Linked DNA regions of Homo sapiens: regions 1, 2, 3, 5 and 6 are each linked to region 4. The links are contacts of gene promoters, found by promoter capture Hi-C in human tissues and cell types (Jung and others, 2019). All regions are on one chromosome and are shown on one strand. The core of a region is centred on a gene start or on the middle of the fragment in contact, and the rest is flanking DNA. Distances in the headings are between cores, read along the strand shown.

Region 1 (3,177 bases), core at 296-2,795, 720 kb before region 4:
CACCGTGCTCAGGTAATTTTGGTACTTTTAGGTAGAGATGGGGTTTCACCATGTTGGCCAGGCTGGTCTCAAACTCCTGGCCTCAAATGATCCGCCCGCCTCGGCTTCCCCAAAATGCTGGGATTACAGGCGTGAGCCACGGCGCCAGGCCCTTGGCTCCCCATCTTTTAATGGAAATAACATCCCCTACCCCACTGGACTGTTTTGGAACCAAGTAAGAGAAATGTTGTAGGAGAGCTTTGTAACTACCTGGACTAAGTGTGCCTTAACTCAGTGGAGCCGGGGGCTACAGCAACACAAAGGAAAGAGAAGCAGAGGCCAGAGTTAGTGAGCAGGTCACCCGGACCAGTCCGACTGGCCTGCAGACGAGATAATAGCGGGTTCTCTTGCCTGGTACAGTTTTATCTTCTGCTCATGAGGGAAGTGCAGAGTCGATACAAACAGGTGGACAAAGTTACTCTTCAGACCTTTTGGGTGAAGATTTTCAGCCACAATTTGACTGACAAAATTCTTGCCTGTGCCAGCCCAGCCGTGTAAGGAAAGGGTCAGTGGTTTCTTGGGATTTTTGTTGTTCCTGAAGCCAGTCAGCGCCTTGAAAATCACTTCCGTGGCTAGATGCTGTCCAAACAGCTTCTCCTCCAAATCCAGCTTGAGAGCTGCAAGAACAGCCCCAGAACAAAGAGAGAAACAGACCTTAAAAATGCATCAGCAACGCAGCACTTTCTTAGCTGGCCAAAGCAAGAAGCACAGATTATCCAGGGACACAGCAGGGTGTCTGCCACACCCTAGGGCCGAGGCAGTCAAACGATGCCACTTTCAAGATTATGTGGAGGTCCTTAACGCTTCGGGGTCTGATAAGGAAGCTAAATGTTCATTCATTCAGAGATGAACCATCGCTTGACTGAGCGCTTGCTAATCCCAGCCACCCTTGCTGACCTGCAGGAAAACCAGGGGCCAAATGTGGGCTTTCTGGGCGACGCAGCACGTCTGAAAACTACTTAATAGGGTTGGCAGGGCGCAGAAGGGCCGCCCGCCTACTTTCCGTTTCTTCCACCTGTGATCCCAAGGAACGGGAGCTTTAGAAAGGCGCTGGGGCAGCCCCACGATCTGGAGACTGTTTGCGAAGGCACCGCTTCTGCGTTCCCGCGAACGGTTCCGGGGCCGCCCCATCCGCTCCCCGCCCACCCCAGCTGGGACCACCGCCGTCTAGATGCCACGGGCCCGGTCCGTGCCAGGCGCCCACGAGGCCGTCCCTCCGCGCCCCCGCGCCCCCGCGCCCCCCGCAGCGCCGACCCACAGCTCGCGCGCGCGCCGTACCCGAAGCGTTGAGCGGCCGCTCCTCGCGGCAGCACTCGGCGAAGCGGCAGTAGATGTCATTGTAGGACAGGTAGCCGGTGATGGCCGACGCGGCCCCGATGGCTAGGCCCACGGTGATGGGCTCGAACGCCGCCACCACTCGGGCCGCCAGCAGCAGCGCCAGCGCCGCCGCGCCCCGGAGCCACCCAGCCCGCAACATCCCGCTCCTCGAAGCCCGCAGAAGCCACTGAGCCAGGCGCCCCGCGGCCAAGCGGCAGGACGGACTTCCTCTCGTGCGTCACTTCCGCCCCGCAGACCCGCCCACTCCCTTGGGGGCGGCCATGTTGGTGAGGGGCGGAGAGGAGGGCGGTGCCATCGTTCTTGGGAGTGGTCCGAAGGTGTAGGAGACTGTTTTGTTTCCCTTTTCTTTTAAAAAAATTTTTTCGGGCCGGGCGCGGTGGCTCACGCCTGTAATCCCAGGACTTTGGGAGGCCGAGCCGAGATCACGCCATTGCACTCCAGCCTGGGCAACAAGAGTGAAAAAATATCTAAAAAAAAAAAAAAAAATTTTTTTTTTTTGGCCGGGCGCCGTGGCTCACGCCTGTAATCCCAGCACTTTGGGAAGCTGAAGCGGGCGGATCACCTGATGTCAGGAGTTCGAGACCAGCCTGCTCAACGTGGCGAAACCCCGTCTCTACTAAAAATACAAAAAATTAGATGGGTGTGGTGGCGGGCGCCTGTAATCCCAGCTACTCGGGAGGTTGAGGCAGGAGAATCTCTTGAACCCAGGAGGCGGAGGTTGCAGTTAGCCGAGATCGTGCCACTGCACTCCAGCCTGGGCGACAAGAGCGAAACTGTCTCAAAAAAAAAAAAAAAGGCTGGCCGGGCGCGGCGGCTCACGCCTGTAATCCCAGCACTTTGGGAGGCCGAGGCAGGCGGATCACGAGGTCAGGAGATCAAGACCATCCTGGCTAACACAGTGAAATCCCATCACTACGAAAAATAGAAAAAATCAGCCGGGCATGGTGGCGGGCGCCTGTAGTCCCAGCTACTCGGGAGGCTGAGGCAGGAGAATGGCGTGAACCTGGGAGGCGGAGCTTGCAGTGAGCCGAGATCGTGCCACTGCACTCCAGCCTGGACGACAGAGCGAGACTCCGTCTCAAAAAAAACAAAAAAAAGCCAAAAAAAATTTTTTTAAACTTTCTTATATTTTTTTCTTATCTGATATGTATATTGGGGACAGGGTCTGGCTCTGTCGCCCCGGCTGGAGCGCAGTGGCAGGATCTCGGCTCGCTGCAAACTCTTCCTCCCAGGTTCAAGCGATTCTCCCATCTCAGCTGCTGGAGTAGCTGGGATTATAGGTGCCCGCCAACACGCCCAGCCAACTTTTGTGTTTTTAGTAGAGACGGGGTTTCGCCATGTGGCCCAAGCTGGTCTCGAACTCCTGACCTCAAGCGATCTACCTGCCTCCGTCTTCCAAAGCCTGGGGTTACAGGAGTGGGCTTATGGCTGGATTTGTTTTCTTCAGAGCTTCTCGGAGCCCTCAAGCTTTGCTTTGTTATCCCTCCCTTCACTTCGCCGGAGGTATAATGTGCGTTTCTTGGGTCGGCCCACCCGCCTGCCTTCTTCCTGAAACAGTTGCGAACTCTCCGTGCTGCGCCCTAGACTGAGCACTGGGGATGCAGCGGCCCCAAGACAGACCTGCCCAGGCTTCCACACTGAAATCCCGAGGTCCATTCTTTCATTCAGCACGCTAGGTGGCAGGCCCCTTGCTGGATGCCAGGAACGACAGCAGAGGAGGGGACGGAGTTGGCCCCTGCCCTCTCAGAGCTGACGGTCTATGGGGGAGGCCGACAAAGGGGTGAGACTCAATGCTGAGTG
Region 2 (3,168 bases), core at 77-2,576, 580 kb before region 4:
GGAGGGCTGCTGGAGTCAGGCGGGCACACTTCAGGGGCCCAGAGCCCCCAGCAGGCCGGCCCATCCCCAGAGCTAGGGGACAGGGGCCTGGTTTCAGATCACCGGGCCCCCATCCTTAGTGTGTGCTGAGCCGCGAGGACTCCGGTCCTCCCCTCCCCCACTGAACCGTCCGGGGCTGGGGCCTTTGCTTTTTCTCCATCTTCTCCCCGTCCCTCCCCTTCTTACCAAGGGCTCAGGACCCTGCCATCCTGTGTCACTTTTTGAAAAAGGCCACTTGGGTGGGTTGTTTGTTTTTAAAGCCCCTTCCTGATGACCTTTGACCTCTGCCGGGGAAGAGAGGCCTGGCTGGGCCGTTCCACCGAGGCAGCTGCTCCCGGGGCAAACTGGAGGGTGGGGGGGGGTGGGCAGGCACCCTCGCCCCCCAAAGAGCCCAACTTAAGACCGAGGAGGAGCTGGGGCGGCGCTAGCTCGTGCGGGAGGGGGCGGGTTTGAAACCCCAACGTGCAGCTCAGCGGCTTTGCCCGACTCAGGTCTCTGTTTCCCCAGTTGTAACCCGGCAGCAGCCACACCCACTTCCCAGGCTGTTCGGGAGCCGAATACTGGGGAGCGAAGGCAGCGCACTTCCCCGTGGGGACGCACCCCAAGACCCGAAGAGGGTCCCCCTCCCCCAGCCCAGAGTGCTGGTCAACCGCCGTCCACCGTCACTTACACGCGCCCCCAGAAGTCCTGCCGCCGACCACGCGCCCTGCATCTTCGCCCGCCCCGCGCCGGCTCCCCGGACCCCGCGCCCCGGCCCCGGCCCCGGCCCCGGCCCCGCCACCCCCGTCCCTGGCCGGCCGTACTCACCATCCTGCGGCGCCGCCTCGCTGCCGCTGCTGCCCCCGGACGGCTCCCGTGCTGCGCCCTCCCGCGCCTCGGCCCTGGCCCCGGGGCGCGCCGCCAGCCGCCCGGCCGCCGCCACCTCTTCCAGGTCCAGGAGGTGGCTCACCGAGAAGTTCTTGCGCGCCTGGGCGCAGTCGCCGGGCCCCAGCGCGGGTGGAGGCGGCGGCGGCCCCGGGCCCAGCGCCGGCTTGTCCAGGGCGAAGGCGGCGGCCGCGCTGTCCATGCCCGCGAGCGGCCCCGGGGGGGCCGGCGGGGGTCTCGGGCTCGGGTCCCAGGAAGGGTCGCGGGCGCGGGTCGGAGCGAGAGCCCCGGCCGCCCCGCGCTCTGCCCAGCTCCCGCCGCCTCCTAGCCTCGCGGCCCGCCCGGCGCTGACGTCGGGGAAACAAACTTTCCGCCCTCCCCTTCTCAGCCACGGCCGCTCGCTCCGGAGCCGCTGGTGCACGCGCTGCGCCGGCCACACGCCCCTTCTTGAAGCAAACCTCGCCCCCCGTCCTCTCCTCCGCCCTCTCCTCCCCGCGCGCCTCGCCCGCCCCCACCCCGGCTGCTGGCGCTGGGGGCGGGGAAGGGGTGTCCTCCCTTCACCCTCCCCACCCACTTTTTAGGGAGTGGGAGGTTCCGTGTTTTGTCGTTTTCCATCCCCCAAGTATCTGGGAGGTGATGGCAGAGGGATTCCCCCCTTCCCTTTACAATCGCCTCCGCAGGTGGAGGGGGCGGCCCAGAGACGAAGGCGACGAGCCCCCCACTCCCAGCTCCAGCCTCACTCGCCTCAGCGCCCCCAACAACGGCCCCGCCCGCCCGCGCTGGCCGACAGAGCTCTGTGCACACCACCCGCCCCAAGGCTGTCTCTCCCAGCAGGCAGCGCATCCTCAGGCTCCTGGGGTGTACGCGACCCCCCACCCCGCCTCTCCCCCGCTGCTCCCTGCCAGGTCCCCCACACACACCCACACACCCGGTGCCCACCCCCCAGGAGGCCCCAGGCCCTTCCCCAAGGAAAACCAAGCGGAGAGGCAGGCGCTTCGTTGCAGAATTCCTGGCGCACACACAGAGGACAGCCAGCCTGAGACGGGTGACAGGAAAGAGAGAGGCAGACTTAGGTGTCCGCTCTTGTTTCAGTTTTGTTTTTCAATGAAAGCACAGAAAAGATGTGCGGAGTGAGCAGACCTGAGACCCTAAGCCCCCCGGATGCCACTGCTCTTTCTCCAGGACAGCCGCTCACCGGCCCGTCCCTCTGTCGCCCTGCCCTCACTACGAGGCATAAAGTCACATCAGCCAAAGTCGCCTACCGGAGGAAGCCTTCAGCACATCCTTTCCCTGTTCCCATATGGAAAACCGGCCCGCACACATCCCTGAAAGCCTGCGGACCATTATTTTTATTTATTATTTATTATTATTATTTATTTTTATTTTTTTGAGACAAGAGTCTGGCTCTGTCGCCCAGGCTGGAGTGCAGTGTCGTGATCTCGGCTCGCTGCAACCTCCGCCTCCTGACTTCAAGCGCTTCTCCTGCCTCAGCCTCTCGAGTAGCTGGGATTACAGGTGTGCATCACCATGCCCGGGTAATTTTTGTATTTTTAGTAGAGGAGGGGTTTCACCATGTTGGCCAGTCTGGTTTCCAGCGTCTGACCTCAGGTGATCCACCTGCCTCGGCCTCCCACAGTGCTGGGATTACAGGCGTGAGCCACCGCACCCAGCCGGGAACACTATTTTTAAGGAAAGCCTAGCAATACATTATAATACATTAATCCTCACAGCGTGTGTTGTTTGTGTCCGCCCCCACCCCCTCCCGCGCTGGAAAGGAATCGACTTCAAAATGAGGCCGAGTAGGCCGGGCACAGTGGCTCACGCCTGTAATCCCAGCACTGTGGAAGGCTGAGGTGGGTGGATCACCTGAGGTCAGGAGTTCGAGACCAGCCTGGCTAACATGGTGAAACCCTGTCTCTACTAAAAATAATAATAATAAAAAAAATTAGCTGGGCATGGTGGCAGGCGCCTGTAATCCCAGCTACTGGGGAGGTTGAGGCAGGAGAATAGCTGGAACCTGGGAGGCGGAGGTTGCAGTGAGCCGAAATCACGCCATTGCACTCCAGCCTGGGCAACAAGAGTGAAACTCCATCTCAAAAAATATATATAAATTAAATTAAATAAGAAATAATAATTTAAAAAATGAGGCCGAGTGTCCCTGAAGTGTCTTTAGCCACAGCAATCCGTGCAGGTGCACACATGGGTAGGGAGGGTTTGGAGATGACGGGGTTCTCCGTCCTTGGACCTCTGCTCCAAGGAGTGTCC
Region 3 (3,119 bases), core at 128-2,627, 630 kb after region 4:
GTGGGCAATTGGGTCAGCAGGCTCTGCTCAGGGGGACCCAGAGGGGCAGGCTTGTCAATGAGCCTCTCAAGGGGCCCGGCATCAAACGTCCTCTCTGAGGGGAGAAGGGTGGAAGCTTTGGGGTTGGCAGTTGGATGAAAACTTGGGAGGCGCTCCTCTACTGTCCAAGTCGCACAGCAACTGTCCTGCCAAAGTAGGGGGAAATAGTAGAGGCTGAGCGACCTGGGGGCAGAGGGGAGGAAGGGGAGGGGACGGGGCAGAACCGCGAGGGAAAGGACCACCGCGCCCGGGTCCCACGCGGAGGACTGCCGGTGGCTACCGGGGGAAACCTGAGGCGCCGGCGGACGTGCGGAGAGGGCGGGTGAGAACCGCTCGGCCCCAAGTGGGCCCCAGAGGGCCAGAACCGCGCAGGGAGCCGCGGGGATGCTGGGGCGGGGCCGGACAACTGTCTCCTAGGAGAAGGGGCGTTACGGAAGAACAGATGCCCGAGAGGACCAATAGTGTTTAAAGGAGGGAGGCGCGGAGGTTGCACGGGCCCCGGGCGCCCCGCCGCGAGGGAAAACCGAACAGAGTTCTGAGCAGGATAGACGCCGGGCTGGGAGGGGGCGGGCGGGACCCCCCCCCGCCGGGCGAGGGCCCTGGCAAGCCGGAGACGGTGCCCGGGGGACAGCGCTGCCTACGGAGGGCGTACAAGTGACTGCCATGTGGAGGCCCGAGGAGAGGACGAGGCGGTCGGGGCGATGCCGCCGACGGGCAGCAGAGCGAGGGAGAGCCTCTGTCGGCGGAGAGAAGGGACGGCCACCCACCAGCAGGCAGGAGGGTACCGGTTTCTGCCCATAGAGAGAAAGGTGAAGCCCTGCCCGCGGGCGGCAGAGGAGGGGCAGAGCCCCGTGGTAGCCAAGAGAGGAAGGAGGCGGCCGACCGCCCGTTAGCGGGAGGAGGAGAGGCCCCGCGCCGGTGGGCGGGGCGGGGGCCCAGGTTCTGACAGGAGGGGGACGAGCGCAACGCGGCGGGGAACCCAGGACCCGACGGCCCCGCGGGGTCGACCGCGCCGGGGGTGCGAAGGCGACGGTCTCGCCCGCGGTGCCCCGGAGGGCGCTGGATCCCGCCTGCCGGCGGCCTCTCACCAGGAGCGACACGGCTGCGCCCAGAAACGCCGCCTTATGAAGTCGTTGAAGTCGGAGGCCAGGGTCGTGCCATGGAGACGCCGCGGCGGATGCAGTCTGGCTCTGGCAGCGGCTCCTCCCCGCTTCCGCCTCCTTTTCCGACACCCGGTCGGCAGCTCGCCCATTGGCCAGTTCAAACCCCCCCGGGAGCCGCTTGGGTTTCGCCATCGAGGCCCAGCCCCTAGCGTCACAGAGATGCCCCGCCCCGCCAGAAGGGCCGCCCACTTCCGGGCCACGCGTCCCGTCACCAAGGAGACGTGCTACGCGTCCAGCGGGCCTGGCCGGGTCTCGCCCCCCATTCAAGGCCTTTCCCGCTCGGCCCTGTTTCCCCTGCCTTGGATCCTCCCGGATTCCCCTCACTCAAAGGAGCGTACGGTTCCGACGCCCTCCCCTCGGTACCCACCAGGAAACTAGGCTCACAGAGGACCCATGGAACTAGTTATTGGGAGCTGCACACTGCCTCCGAAAATCCAGCCCTGCCCCTAGTCCACTATTAATGCGGAGATGGAGTCGGCTTCTGCGCATTCCCCGGCCTCTCCCCTGCCCACATCGCCTCTGTCTTGGCCCCAACAGGAGAAAGGGTCGGCATTCCCCTTGCTGTTCTGTTCACTACCTTCCTGCACTTTTTTTTTTTTTTTTTTTTTTTTTTTTTTTTTTTTTTTTGAGACAGATTCTTGCTCTGTTGCCCAGGCTGGAGTGCAGTGGCGCGATCTCGGCTCACCGCAACCTCCGCCTCCCGGGTTCACGCCATTCTCCTGCCTGAGCCTCCCGAGTAACTGGGACTACTGGCGCCCGCCACAACGCCCGGCTAATTTTTTTTTGTATTTTTAGTAGAGACGGGGTTTCACCGTGTTGGGCAGGATAGTCTCCATCTCCTGACCTCATGATCCACCCGCCTCGGCCTTCCAAAGTGCTTGTATTACAGGCTTGAGCCTCCGCGCCCGGTCTACTACCCTCCTGCACTCTCTATGCCGCTCTGTGTACAGACCTATTCTGATGAGGTCCTTGCTGGTCCGCCATCTTCTCAATTATGCTTCACTGTCAGCCAGTCAGGGGAGGTCTGTCACGTGGCTCATAATGCCGCCCTGGAATCTGGGAGACCTGAACCACCTCCGGGCCAACTGGGCCACAGTCCCTTGACCTTTCTCCAGTGACCCCGCAGCACCTTAGCCACACAGCTCCAGGGTCACACAAGTGTTTCACCTGCAATCCTAAAGTCAGACTCGCAAACAAAACCTGCTTTTCCGCCTCGCTTTCACAGTATACTGCATACTGAATTTGTTCTGTAATGTCAGGGAGCTCCCCAATCCCTTGATCCATTCATTGTCTCTCTGTTGAATAATTGATAGATTTCCTAATCCTCATTAACCATTTAAGACTGCGGTGGCTCACGCCTGTAGTCCCAGCACTTTGGGAGGCTGAGGCAGGCGGATCACCTAAGGTCAGAAGTTCAAGACCAGACTGCCCAACATAGCGAAACCCCGTCTCTACTAAAAATACAAAAATTAACCGGGCATGGTGGTGTGTGCCTGTAATCCCAGCTACTAGGGAGGAGGAGGCAGGGAGAATTCCTTGAACCTGGAAGGCGGAGGTTGCAGTGAGCCAAAATCACCACTACACTTCAGCCTGGGTGACAGAGTGAGACTCTTGTCTCAAAAAAAAAAAAAAAAAAAAAAAAGTATATACAGGTTCAAGGAAAAGAGGACAGGAAAAGGAGGTCCCGGTCCTCCTGGGGCAGGCAGGAGATGGTTCCCAGAGGTGATGGTATTGGAACTGAGCCATGAAAGGTGAGTGGAAGTTCGCCAAACAAGCAGCAAAGGGAATTCTAAACAGACTGCAGTAGGTACACAGGTACCACATGCAGGTACAAGAGAATACTGCATATTCTATGAAGCATCATCACTGCAGTCCCTTGAAGTGTTACAGGGCCAGCGATGAGAGAAATCCTGCCAA
Region 4 (3,556 bases), core at 247-2,746:
AGGTTCCTTCTGGCTTGTTGGATTGTGAGCACTCCAAGAAGCTACTCTGAGGCCAGGAGGGGAAGCTGTGAAGGTGCAGAGGCCTTAGCAAGTCTTTCCCCACCTCCAGGCTTTGGCTTTCCTCTTATAAAGCAGCTGGTTTTCATAGTGCAGGAATGCAGGGATATTTCAGGCCTGTTAAGCATTCTAAAAACCAGAGCTAGCCCAGGGCCTAGCACTCAGAAGTGTTCAGTGGATATTGACTGAATGAATGAATGGATGAATGAATGGTAGACAGGCAGGCAGGCAGGGCCCAGGACCTGGCAGGGCCATACCACCCCCAGTACAACCCAGAACACCAGCGTCAACGTTCTTTGGCATTCAGTCCTGGTGCCCTCAGCGGACCCAGGTTCTCACATCTCGCAAGACAGCAGCATGAGCAGGCCCTTCCCAGGCAACCAGGGCTCAATGAGGGGCTCCAGCCTTCCCTGGCACTCAACCATCTTACCCAGGGAGGGTCTTGCAAGGTGGGATAACATTAACTGCAGGTATTTACTGAACGCTTACTGCATGCCGGGCACTGTACTCAGCCCTTCTTGTGCCTCCTGCTATTTGATGCTCATACCATCACCAGAAGGTAAGCACTGTAATCAGTCCCACTTTAGAGATGAATTAACTTAAGCAGAGGCAGGCACCTGCACAAGGCCTCAGCCTCAACTGGAGCCCAGATGGGTCTGACCCCCACGCCCAGGCTCTGCGCCACTCTTACTAGACAGCCTCCAGAACGCCGCTAATGGACCTCTCAACTGGAAAGCCCTGCACTTCGAGAGGTGTGTCTGATGGGAAGCAACAGAAGTCAAGTTCCCGGAGGCTGCCCGCCCCCTCATCGGGTCCTCTCTGTTGTGGAATCGTGCCCTGCTCAGGGCGTGGCACCACAAGTACTCAAAAGCCTGGCTTCGGCTTGCACACTCCCAGCAACGGGGAGCTCTTTCTCTTACAAGCAGCCCAAAGCACTGTTCGAAGGAAACAAGACACTCCCTGCACGCTGGAACAGGAGTGCGGCCTCTCTGGGACAGGGGAGGGCGGGGAAGAAGGGCCAAGGTCCAGGCCAGGGATCTTTTCTCGCCTCACACAGATCCTCAACCCATTTCAGCCCACCGGCGCCCCGGGACCCGGGGGAGCGCCCTGGCCGCGCAGCCGCAGAGTGCGCGAGCGAGCGCCTCACAATTTCGCCCAGCTCATCCTCGCACCACTGCGCCTGCGCGGCGCGCGCGCCGGCCGAGCCCCTCCGTGGTTCACTATTTGACAGTTCCCACCCCGGTCCCCCGGCGCCCCCTCCGCGGGCTCGAGCAGGCCGGAGCGCCCGGGACTGAGAGGCCGTCCCTGGGAAGGCGTCCTTGGAGCCGGGACCGCCTTTTACCTGCAGGATATTCGACGTGGGTGAGGGTCACCGGCCGCCATGAAGCGGGGAGCGAGCACTGTCCGTCCGCTGCCATCTTACCCGGAGACCGGGCTTCTTCGAGCAGCCAATGGGGAGCCAGGGGGGCGGTGGTCCTGACCTATCACGCCGGGGAGGCGCCGTGCACCCAATCGGAGGCCAATATAGGTAGCGGCGCAGCCATTCAGCGTGCAGGCCGTGGGGGCTGGCCCGAGCGGCGAATCAGAGAGCGGGGCCCCTGGGAGCCAACGAGCCGCCCCAGCTGGCGCCCAATCTGGGGCGAGCGCAGGTAGGCATCTGGCCAATCAGAGAAGGGGAGGGTTCCAGCACCGAACAGGGAGCATAACAGCCAATCAGAAGGTGAGGCTGCCTCAGCTTGTGGGCAGGGCGGGCCAATCAGGCGCTGGCTTTGGGGGCGTGTTGAACTTTGGTGGGAGCTTTGGTTCGGCTGGGACCTGCGCCCTGAATGAAGGCTTCCCTGGTACCCCCTGCCGATCCGCGGTCTTGGGGACCTGCGCGTCCGATAGCGCGTGCTCGAAGAGGAGAGGCAACCTCAGCTCCAGGGGGTTTGAACCGACCCACTTTCAGTTACGAGTAAACTGAGACCAGAGAGCAGAGGGGGCTTATTTCCCTCTGCCCCATACTGGCCGGCGAAAGGGCAAGTCACACAGAGCAGGCGACCTTTTTGTCAAAAGTGTGTGGGGCGGGGCGCGCAGTAGGCGCCCTAAACGCTGGACTGAACAGAGAAGCTTAATTGATACTTAAGAGTGGAAGCTTAGCTACAGTTAAGGACTCCTTCCTCCTTTCATTCATTTAATAAAGATTTATTGATTCAGTCACGTCTATGCTACTTAATGAGGCGTCTTGGGAGCATTTCAAACAAGAAGTCGGTTTTCCACCTACCCCTCAGTTTTCCCAAGACATTCCTGCGTGAACAGCCACACCTTCCCACCCGCCTTCACCTCTCCTACCCGACTCTGTCTCTGGCTGGATTGGATTACAGTGCAGGTAAGGTGGGCTGGGAGGGCTCAGCCTCTTGTCTCCTGCCGCTAGCATGTGCTGTTTTTGTCTGTTTGTTTGTTTTTTGAGACAGGGTCTTGCTCTGAGGCCCAGGCTGGAGTGCAGTGGAACGATCTTGCTCAGCCTCCTGGGTCCAAGTGATTCTCCTGTCTCAGCCTCCCGAGTAGCTGTGACTACAGGCGCGCACCACCGCATCCGGCTAATTTTTGCATTTTTAGTAGAGACCGGGTCTTACCATGTTGGGCAGGCTGGTCTCGAACTCCTGGCCTCAGGTGATCCACCTGCCTCGGCTCCCAAAATGCTGAGATTACAAGCGTGAGCCGCCATGCCCAGCTAATTTTTTTTTTTTTTTTTTGAGACGGAGTCTCGCTCTGTTGCCCAGGCTGGAGTGCAGTGGCACGCCCGGCTAATTTTCGTACTTTTCGTAGAGACGGGGTTTCACCGTGTTGGTCAGGATGGTCTTGATCTCCTGACCTCGTGATCCGCCCACCTCGGCCTCCCAAAGTGCTGGGATTACAGGTGTGAGCCACCGCCCCTGGCCACCATGTGCTGTTTTGCTGCGTGGGATGTACTGCCTCTCCTGCCCTACTTTGCCCGGCCCAATCTGGTTCAGGTGTCTCCTCGGCTTACAGGTTTCCACAGTCAAGTGAGGGGCCAGTACTGGGCTCTCACGGTTGCATTTCCTGTCCTTTCTCAGCCCTGACCTCACTGGACTGTAATCGGCTCCCTATCCCTCCCAGTCAGCAGCGGCTCTCAGATTCATGGAGTGCTGAGATCAGCCTGTAGAAAACACAGATTCCTGGGTCACAATGGGGCCTGGGTTGATCCAGTAGGTCTGAGTTGGAGCCCAGGTGTCTGCATTCTTATGTGCTCTGGTGGTTCTGATACAGGTGGTTACAGCCACCACTGGAGAAACCCTGGGCAACATGAGGACAGGGCCTGGTACATCCTGAGCCTGGTCCAGACCAGACCTAGAGCAAGTGTCTGATAAGTGACACGAGCGCCCCTGAGGTGAGTTGAGAATTACCCAGGAAATCCCACTGAGAGTGGCTCTTTCTGCGAGTGGCCAGGCCAGTAGAGCGGGGACCGTGAGCTGGCCTGTGTGGCCGGAGATGATGG
Region 5 (3,532 bases), core at 643-3,142, 710 kb after region 4:
ATGTTGGGCATTCCTGAGAATGCTGCAATTTTCATGGAACGCTGTGCTGTGACAGGAGGTGATAGAAGGTGGGTGGGTGGGTGGGTGGGTGGAGGAATGTTGTCCTGCCTTGCCAGGGGTCATTATTGCTCTTGGAGGTAAGGGAGACTGAAGTTAGAGATGATTGGGTCAGAAAAAGGGCAATTGTGCTGGTTTGTAAGCTCTGGAGAGCAATGGCCCCATCTTCCTCACATGACTTCCCCACTGAGCTAGCACAGTACCTAGCAGAGACATTGTTGATAAACAAAGACCATGTCTGACTCATGAGGATGAAAGGCAAGTTGTCTGCAGATAAATCTTCTTTTTTTTTTTTTTGGTAGAGATGAAGTCTCCCCATGTTGCCAAGGCTGGTCTCGAATTCTTGGGCTCAAGCAGTCCTCCTGCCCAAGCCTCCCAAAGTACTAGGATTACAGGCATGAGCCTCCATGCCTGGCCCAGATAAATCTTAACACAGCAGTCTGTGGCTTCTCTCTTTCCAGCTCTGCTGAGGCCTGTCAAGGAAGCAGGGATCCTCCTAGAATCCCAGGCTTTGGGGAGTGTAGCTGGGCCAAGGGTCAGTGAGGCAAAACAGTGAGGAGTCCAGACCAATACAGTTCTAATTGGATCCAAGCAGCCAGACAATATCAATTAAAATGCACTTAGTCATGAGACTTACCCCCCTTCTAAGGGGCAGAAATGCTGAACGCTGTAGGGCACGGACAGACTTCTATTTATCTTTGTATCCTCAGTGTCTGGCTTGCTGCCCGGCACATGGTAGGCACTCAATAAATGGCTGGTGAATGAACTACCCAATTAAGGGAAAACATGAAAGAAATGGGAGGCATCCAATGAGAAGAAAGGCACTGGGCAGAGGTTTTAGATTCCCATCCCAGACTTTTCCTGTCACATAGACCTTGGCTTATCTACACACACACAGGCACACACACACACCTACCTATTCCACACACACACACACACATCCCTACCTATTTCCTCTTTTCCACGTGATACTGTAAAGTACACCACCCATCTTTCAAGGCCTGTTTCTTTGCCTTCTCTCTAAGCTCTGCAGTTTCCCTCAGCTTTGAAACCATATGACAAACCTGTTTGTAGGAAGCACAAATAGTGCCTTGGGTAGACTTCCTCCCTGCTCTGTGTTTCTTCAGTAACTGGTGTGTGTCCCAATCTCTGCATTTTTCATCTTGTGTATACTATACTGTCCCTGTTAGTTCCCTTCAGTGTGATTTCTTATTTGTCCCCGTGTCTCCACCTGACTCCAGTTCTGCAGAAGGCAATCAGCAAGTTTACTGACTGTCCTGAAGGAGGCTCAGGTCTGTTTACCATCCCCAAGTCTTAGGAAAGAAAAAGAAAAAAGTCCCGCCCTGGCCACTACATCCCACGAGAAACAAGACCTTAATAACAGTGTAAAAAGAAACTGCTGCCCAAAGAATGAAATCAGCGGGTGGAGGGTGGTCCTTCTAGGTTCTAGGAGCTCAGATGCCAAACAGATGGGATTGGTCCGAGATAGGAATGGAAAAGAAGAGAGAGAGGCTGCCTGCTAACAGTCACGACCTCCGACTCCGGCGGAGCACAGGGCACCGAGTGGTACACAGAGAGCATTTCCCTCCCAATGTGCGCCTCTATTTCCGGACAGACGGCCTCACTGCCAAGAGAGACTGGCCTCTCAGACTCTCCTAGGCGGGTAGCGTAGCTCACAGCGGGCACTGGGACACCCAGTGATTCGGCCGTGTCAGGCCCCACGGCAGAAGGAAAGGAATTCTGGGCCCGACGACTTCAATCCATCCCCACGGCGCCCCAGCTCTGTGACTCACCCGAACTCCACCTCCACTGACAAGGGCGCAGCCATGTTGAGGAAGCCGAGCTCGCAGGAAACTCCCCTCAACTTCCGGCGCGCCCGCAAATTTCCGGGCGTCTCCGGGTGCCGCGGACGGAAGAGGCGGTGCCCAGGGATCCAGCTTCGTCAGCTGTTGGAGGAAGTCATCGAGGGGAGGGGAGGGGAGGGGAGGGCAGCGGAGGGAAAGGGGTGGCAGAGGGACTATCACCGGCGCTGTTGGGGCTGTGAATCGGTCTCCTTCCGTCTTTCACCGACTGGGCTCAGAGACCCAGGGTGGGAAGCGCCTTGTACGGGACCACAAGCAGGCGGAGGAGAGCCCCCAGGTTTTTTGCGACGTGACCGTGAGCCACGTAGCTGCTTATCTTGCATGAGTTAGAATCTCTTCAGTCTACACACCGCTTGGGCCAGCCCATCTACTCGTCTGGTTGGAATTATAAATGACTCCCAGATCTTTATTTCCGACCCAGAATCTCTCCTGAGCGGGCGACTCGCTATCCAGCCGCCCCCTTTGCTGTCGATTTGGAAGTCACTCGTTCAACAGCTGTTCATTGCGCCTCCCTGTGCCAGGCATTTTGATCGGTGCTAGTGGTAAAGGGGATGGGCAAGGTTCCTGCCTTTAGGGCACTCACAGTCTAGCGGGGAGACTAACTGTAATCAAATAAGCATACTAAGACATGTACAACCTCAAACTTAAATAAAGGAACTGAAGTTATAGGAACTTCAAAAAGAAAACTGAGTAGACTGGACTTGCTGGGCTCTAAAACCTGAGTAAACTAGGTGGCTGTGAGGGGAGAGAAACCTCTAGGAGCATTCCAGTGAGGAGGACAAAAGGCCCAGAGGCTCTGGGTGAGAACATGCTGGAACATGGAGAGGAAGGTGGAAGTTAGGGAGCCTGACTTTCATCCATCTAGAGAGGGAGCTGCAAAGGTGCTCAGGGGCCAACCCCTGCCTTGTAAGCAGGTAAACATTTCAGTCTCTAGGAGCAGTGGGAGACTACTGAAGGGTTTTGGGAGACAGTGACATTTTAGAATTGTGTTTTAAAATATAATTTCTGGCTGCAATATGGAGAATGATTTGAGGGGAATAAGGAAAGAGACACGGAGACCACTGGAGCCTGTTGCAAAAGCTCAGGGCAGGCCGGGCGCGGCGGCTCAGGGCAGGCCGGGCGCGGCGGCTCACGCCTGTCATCCCAGCAATTTGGGAGGCCGAGGCAGGCGGATCACGAGGTCAAGAGATCAAGACCATCCTGGCCAACATGGCAAAACCCTGTCTTTACTAAAAAAATACAAAAATTAGCTGGATGTGGTGGCGTGCGCCTGTAGTCCCAGCTACTCGGGAGGCTGAGGCAGAAGAATCGCTGGAACCCGGGAGGTGGAGGTTGCAGTGAGCTGACATCGAGCCACTGCACTCCAGCCTGGTGACAGAGCAAGACTCTGTCTCAAAAAAAAAAAAAAGCCCAGGGCAGAAATGGAATGAAGTTGGCCAGGCACAGTGGCTTATGCCTGTAATCCTAGCACTTCGAGAGGCCACGATGGGCGGATCACGAGGTCAGGAGTTCAAGACCAGTCTAGCCAACATGGTGAAACCCTGTCTCTACTAAAAATACAAAAATTAGCCAGGCATGGTGGCAGTCTCCTGTAATCCCAACTACTCTGGAGG
Region 6 (3,329 bases), core at 553-3,052, 530 kb after region 4:
TGGTATCCGTGGCCTCTTCTCCAGCAGGTTGCAGTAAAATGTTTGATCAGATATTCAGCTCTGGGTACAAAATGGCTAACACAATTGTAGCTCCCTAAAATTTCCAAGACCTTCTGCTCCAGCAAAGAAAGCACCTTGGGACTGAGGGGCAGGAGCTGTTCAAAAGGGAGGGTTTTTCTATTAAATCACCCTGGCCCCATAGTGAACTGGGGGTTCTGCTGCTTTTGCTGGATGCAAAATGGAGACCTAAGAGAGAGCTCTGTATTGATAGAGAAACTAAAATCTTATTTGATTCTTTGTGTGATCTGAGACATGACCAAGAAACAGTATCCCCAGCGCTCTCCACCTCCCACCCACTCACCCTGCCTTCTCTGCACTTGGCACTTGAAACCAGCCATTCTTCACTGTTCTGTTGTCTGCCTACCTCACCTCCCACCAGTTTCACCATATGCCTAACACCCTAGTAGGTGTGGAAAGCTGGGGGAAAAAACAACAACAGAAAAAGCACAGGACAGTGTAACGACTTTGTAACCAATCAACTCCATGTTCTCAGTCACACCTCTCCTGGCCTCCTAAAAAGCAGAGGGTTGGACTGAATTCTCAACTCCTTTTTCTAGTTTCAGCAATCCTCAGAAGGTTTGATAGGCACCCTAAGCTTAAGCGTCTAGATAGTCCCAATACTTTTTCAGGTTGTTGAAAAGGTCAACTGTTGGAAAACACACTAATTGTGGTGATGTGTCCATATGTTCCAGCCAGGGAAAGTCACTTGCCCACTCTCCCTGGGAGAGACCCCTTCCCCTCCCCTCCCCTCCACACCCTGTCTCACCCCCTGCAAAGATAACAGGCAAGCACTTCCACTATTTTTCTTCCCTAGAAGGGAGCTGATTGGGAAGAGTCATGCTGGCAAGTGGACTGCACTTCCCATATGACATTCTGCAGTGTCAGAGCTGGCAAGAAATAACACAGCTCTTCAAATCACAGTGCCTGGATGAACCTTGAAGGCTTTATGCTAAGTGAAATACGCCAGACACATAAGGATGAATACTGTATGACCATTCCACTTATATGAGATCCCTAAAATTGTCAGATTCATAGAGACAGAAAAAACTGTTGTTACCAGGGTCTGAGGGGAGGGAGGAATGGGTTATTATTGTTTAGTGGGAAAGTTTCCGTCTGGGATGGTGAAAGAGAGTTCTGGAGAGGATGGTGGTGATGGTTGCACAACACTGTGACTGTACATAATGCCACAGAACTGTACACTTACAAATGGTTAGGCAGGGCTTGGTGGCTCACGCCTGTAATCCCAGCACTTTGGGAGGCTGAGGCGGGCGGATCACTTGCGGTCAGGAGCTTGAGACCATCCTGGCCAACATGGTGAAACCCTGCCTCTACTAAAAATACAAAAATTAATCGGGTGTGGTGGTGCACACCTGTAATCCCAGCTACTCGGGAGGCTGAGGCAGGAGAGTCGCTTGAACCCGGGAGGCGGAGGTTGCAGTGAGCCAAGATCGCGCCATTGCACTCCAGACTGGGCGACAGATTGAGACTCCGTCTCAAAAAAAAAAAAAAGGTTAAACTTTTTATGTTCTATATATTTTACTACAATCAAAAGACAAAGCAAAACACAAGCCCCTGCTTCTAAAATCAAGCACCACATTAGAGAAGCAGCCTGATAGGCTCTGGGAGTGTGGCCTTACCAGGGTTTTAAGACTCCAGGTGACAGCAGAGATGTAAACTCCTCCCTCCCCTCCCCTAATCCGACCTTGTAATCTGGCTCCGGTCATTTCACATCTGTTCCCTTGCAGGGCTGCCTGCTAGGCCTGGTCAGTCCGTGTCCCTCCTGCTTACCTTGAACCCACTACTACAGTTAGTTTCACAAATCACGTCAAACCTTCTCAACAAGTTTCAGTTGTTTCCCATTGCCTACGGAATAGGCCGAAATTTGCAGCCTCCACAATCTTGTTCCAATTTACCTTTTCACAGCATCATTCCCTACAGTTCTGCTCTACTGGTCTGAGGTTAGCCTCTTTCCAAAACATGTTATTTCTCCAACTCCATGCTTTTGTGAACAATTTTTTCCTCCAATTAGAACATCCTTTCCCAACACTCATGCCTCCTTTCTGCCTGAAAATCTTACCCATTTTGAGTATATGTAAGTAGAACCTTTCTGGAAGAGCAGTTGGCAATGTGGATCAAAATATAAAATTTGCATGCCATTTGACCCAGCAATGTTAGTTACATCTAGAAATCTGCCTTAAGCAGGACAAGATGCATTTTCATTCAGGACGGGCGTGGTGGCTCACACCTGCAATCCCAGCACTTTAGGAGGCTGAGGCAGGCAGATCACTTGAGCCCAGGAGTTTAAGACCAGCCCGGGCACCATGGCAAAACCCCATCTCTACAAAAAAATGCAAAAATTAGCCAGATGTGGTGGCTTGCGCCTGTAGTCCCAGCTACTCAGGAGGCTGTGGGAGGATCACCTAAGCGCGGGAGGTCAAGGCTGCAGTGAGCCATGACTGTGCTACTGCATTCCAGCTCAGGCAATAGAGTGAGACCTTGTCTCAAAAAAAAAAAAAAAAAAAAAAAGAATGTTAATAATTTAAAAAAATATATTAGGCATAACCTAGTCACCAAGTGAAAAATGATTAATTACGATTCATAAATTCAAGACTATATTCATGATATAATACTTATTGACTTGAGAAAATATTTGAAGTGTTACTGAATTTTAGGTTACATGAATGGTACTCAGTCCATTTAAGTAAGAATTATAGGCTGGGCGCAGTGGCTCACGCCTGTAATCCCAGCACTTTGGGATGCCAAGGAGGGTGGATCACCTGAGGTCAGGAGTTCGAGACCAGCCTGACCAACATGATGAAACCTCGTCTCTAGACTAGAATTTCAACCCCAGCTTTCCTGGGTTTCCAGCTTGCAGATGGCAGATTGTGGGACTTCTCAGTCTCCATAATCTCATGAATAAATTCCTCGTAATTAAATCTCATCATATCCCTGTCCATCCATCCGTCTCCTATTGGTCTGTTTCTCTGGGGACCCTAATACAGTGAACTTCCATAGGCCTGTCACCCAGCTCCAACAGTTATCAACATTCTGCCATTCTTGTTTGTTTTTTTGAGACTGAGTCTCGCTCTTGTTGCCCAAGCTGGAGTGCAATGGCATGATCTCAGCTCACTGCAAACTCCGCCTCCCGGGTTCAAGTGATTCTCCTGCCTCAGCCTCCCGAATAGCTGGGATTACAAGCATCTGCCACCACACCCAGCTAATTTTTGTGTATTTTTAGTAGAGACAGGGTTTCACCATGTTGGCCAGGC

Evidence for each region. Contacts are between HindIII fragments. The study calls those that stand out against the background at their distance.
Region 1: a contact is called between the fragment with the promoter of TOR1B here and the fragment with the promoter of DOLPP1 in region 4, in 4 of the 25 tissues and cell types used here (heart right ventricle, lymphoblastoid cells, mesenchymal stem cells and 1 more).
Region 2: the fragment with the promoter of PRRX2 here is called in contact with the fragment with the promoter of DOLPP1 in region 4 in 1 of the 25 tissues and cell types used here (mesenchymal stem cells).
Region 3: the fragment with the promoter of ODF2 here is called in contact with the fragment with the promoter of DOLPP1 in region 4 in 1 of the 25 tissues and cell types used here (spleen).
Region 5: a contact is called between the fragment with the promoter of URM1 here and the fragment with the promoter of DOLPP1 in region 4, in 1 of the 25 tissues and cell types used here (dorsolateral prefrontal cortex).
Region 6: a contact is called between a fragment that was not itself captured here and the fragment with the promoter of DOLPP1 in region 4, in 1 of the 25 tissues and cell types used here (hippocampus).

What each region holds. Positions count from the first base shown.
Region 1 is chr9:129,801,552-129,804,728 of GRCh38, reverse strand. TOR1B (torsin family 1 member B) reads right to left here and starts at 1,545. Exons shown (of 5, transcript NM_014506.3): 1 at 1,318-1,545; 2 at 391-656. The coding sequence starts at 1,516. RefSeq lists silencers at 1,156-1,275, 1,336-1,465. The HindIII fragment of the contact is 20,911 bases long and covers 1-3,177 here.
Region 2 is chr9:129,663,805-129,666,972 of GRCh38, reverse strand. It overlaps PRRX2 (paired related homeobox 2), which reads right to left and starts at 1,326. Exons shown (of 4, transcript NM_016307.4): 1 at 847-1,326. The coding sequence starts at 1,105. The HindIII fragment of the contact is 13,961 bases long and covers 1-2,684 here.
Region 3 is chr9:128,454,264-128,457,382 of GRCh38, reverse strand. ODF2 (outer dense fiber of sperm tails 2) reads right to left here and starts at 1,377. Exons shown (of 21, transcript NM_001351578.2): 1 at 1,128-1,377. The coding sequence starts at 1,291. RefSeq lists enhancers at 96-831, 1,425-1,474, 832-1,567, 1,605-1,694, 1,568-2,304 and 1 more and silencers at 225-274, 485-634, 665-764, 895-1,204. The HindIII fragment of the contact is 20,941 bases long and covers 1-3,119 here.
Region 4 is chr9:129,079,051-129,082,606 of GRCh38, reverse strand. It overlaps DOLPP1 (dolichyldiphosphatase 1), which reads right to left and starts at 1,496. Exons shown (of 8, transcript NM_020438.5): 1 at 1,400-1,496. The coding sequence starts at 1,475. RefSeq lists a silencer at 1,069-1,798. The HindIII fragment of the contact is 10,069 bases long and covers 1-3,556 here.
Region 5 is chr9:128,369,734-128,373,265 of GRCh38, reverse strand. It overlaps URM1 (ubiquitin related modifier 1), which reads right to left and starts at 1,892. Exons shown (of 5, transcript NM_030914.4): 1 at 1,851-1,892. The coding sequence starts at 1,885. RefSeq lists enhancers at 1,694-1,793, 1,857-2,720, 2,721-3,532. The HindIII fragment of the contact is 22,131 bases long and covers 1-3,532 here.
Region 6 is chr9:128,547,488-128,550,816 of GRCh38, reverse strand. All of the region lies in intron 1 of LOC101929270 (a long non-coding RNA gene), which reads left to right. Among named protein-coding and RNA genes, the nearest start is that of SPTAN1, 3.4 kb to the left of the region's middle. The HindIII fragment of the contact is 3,897 bases long and covers 1-3,329 here.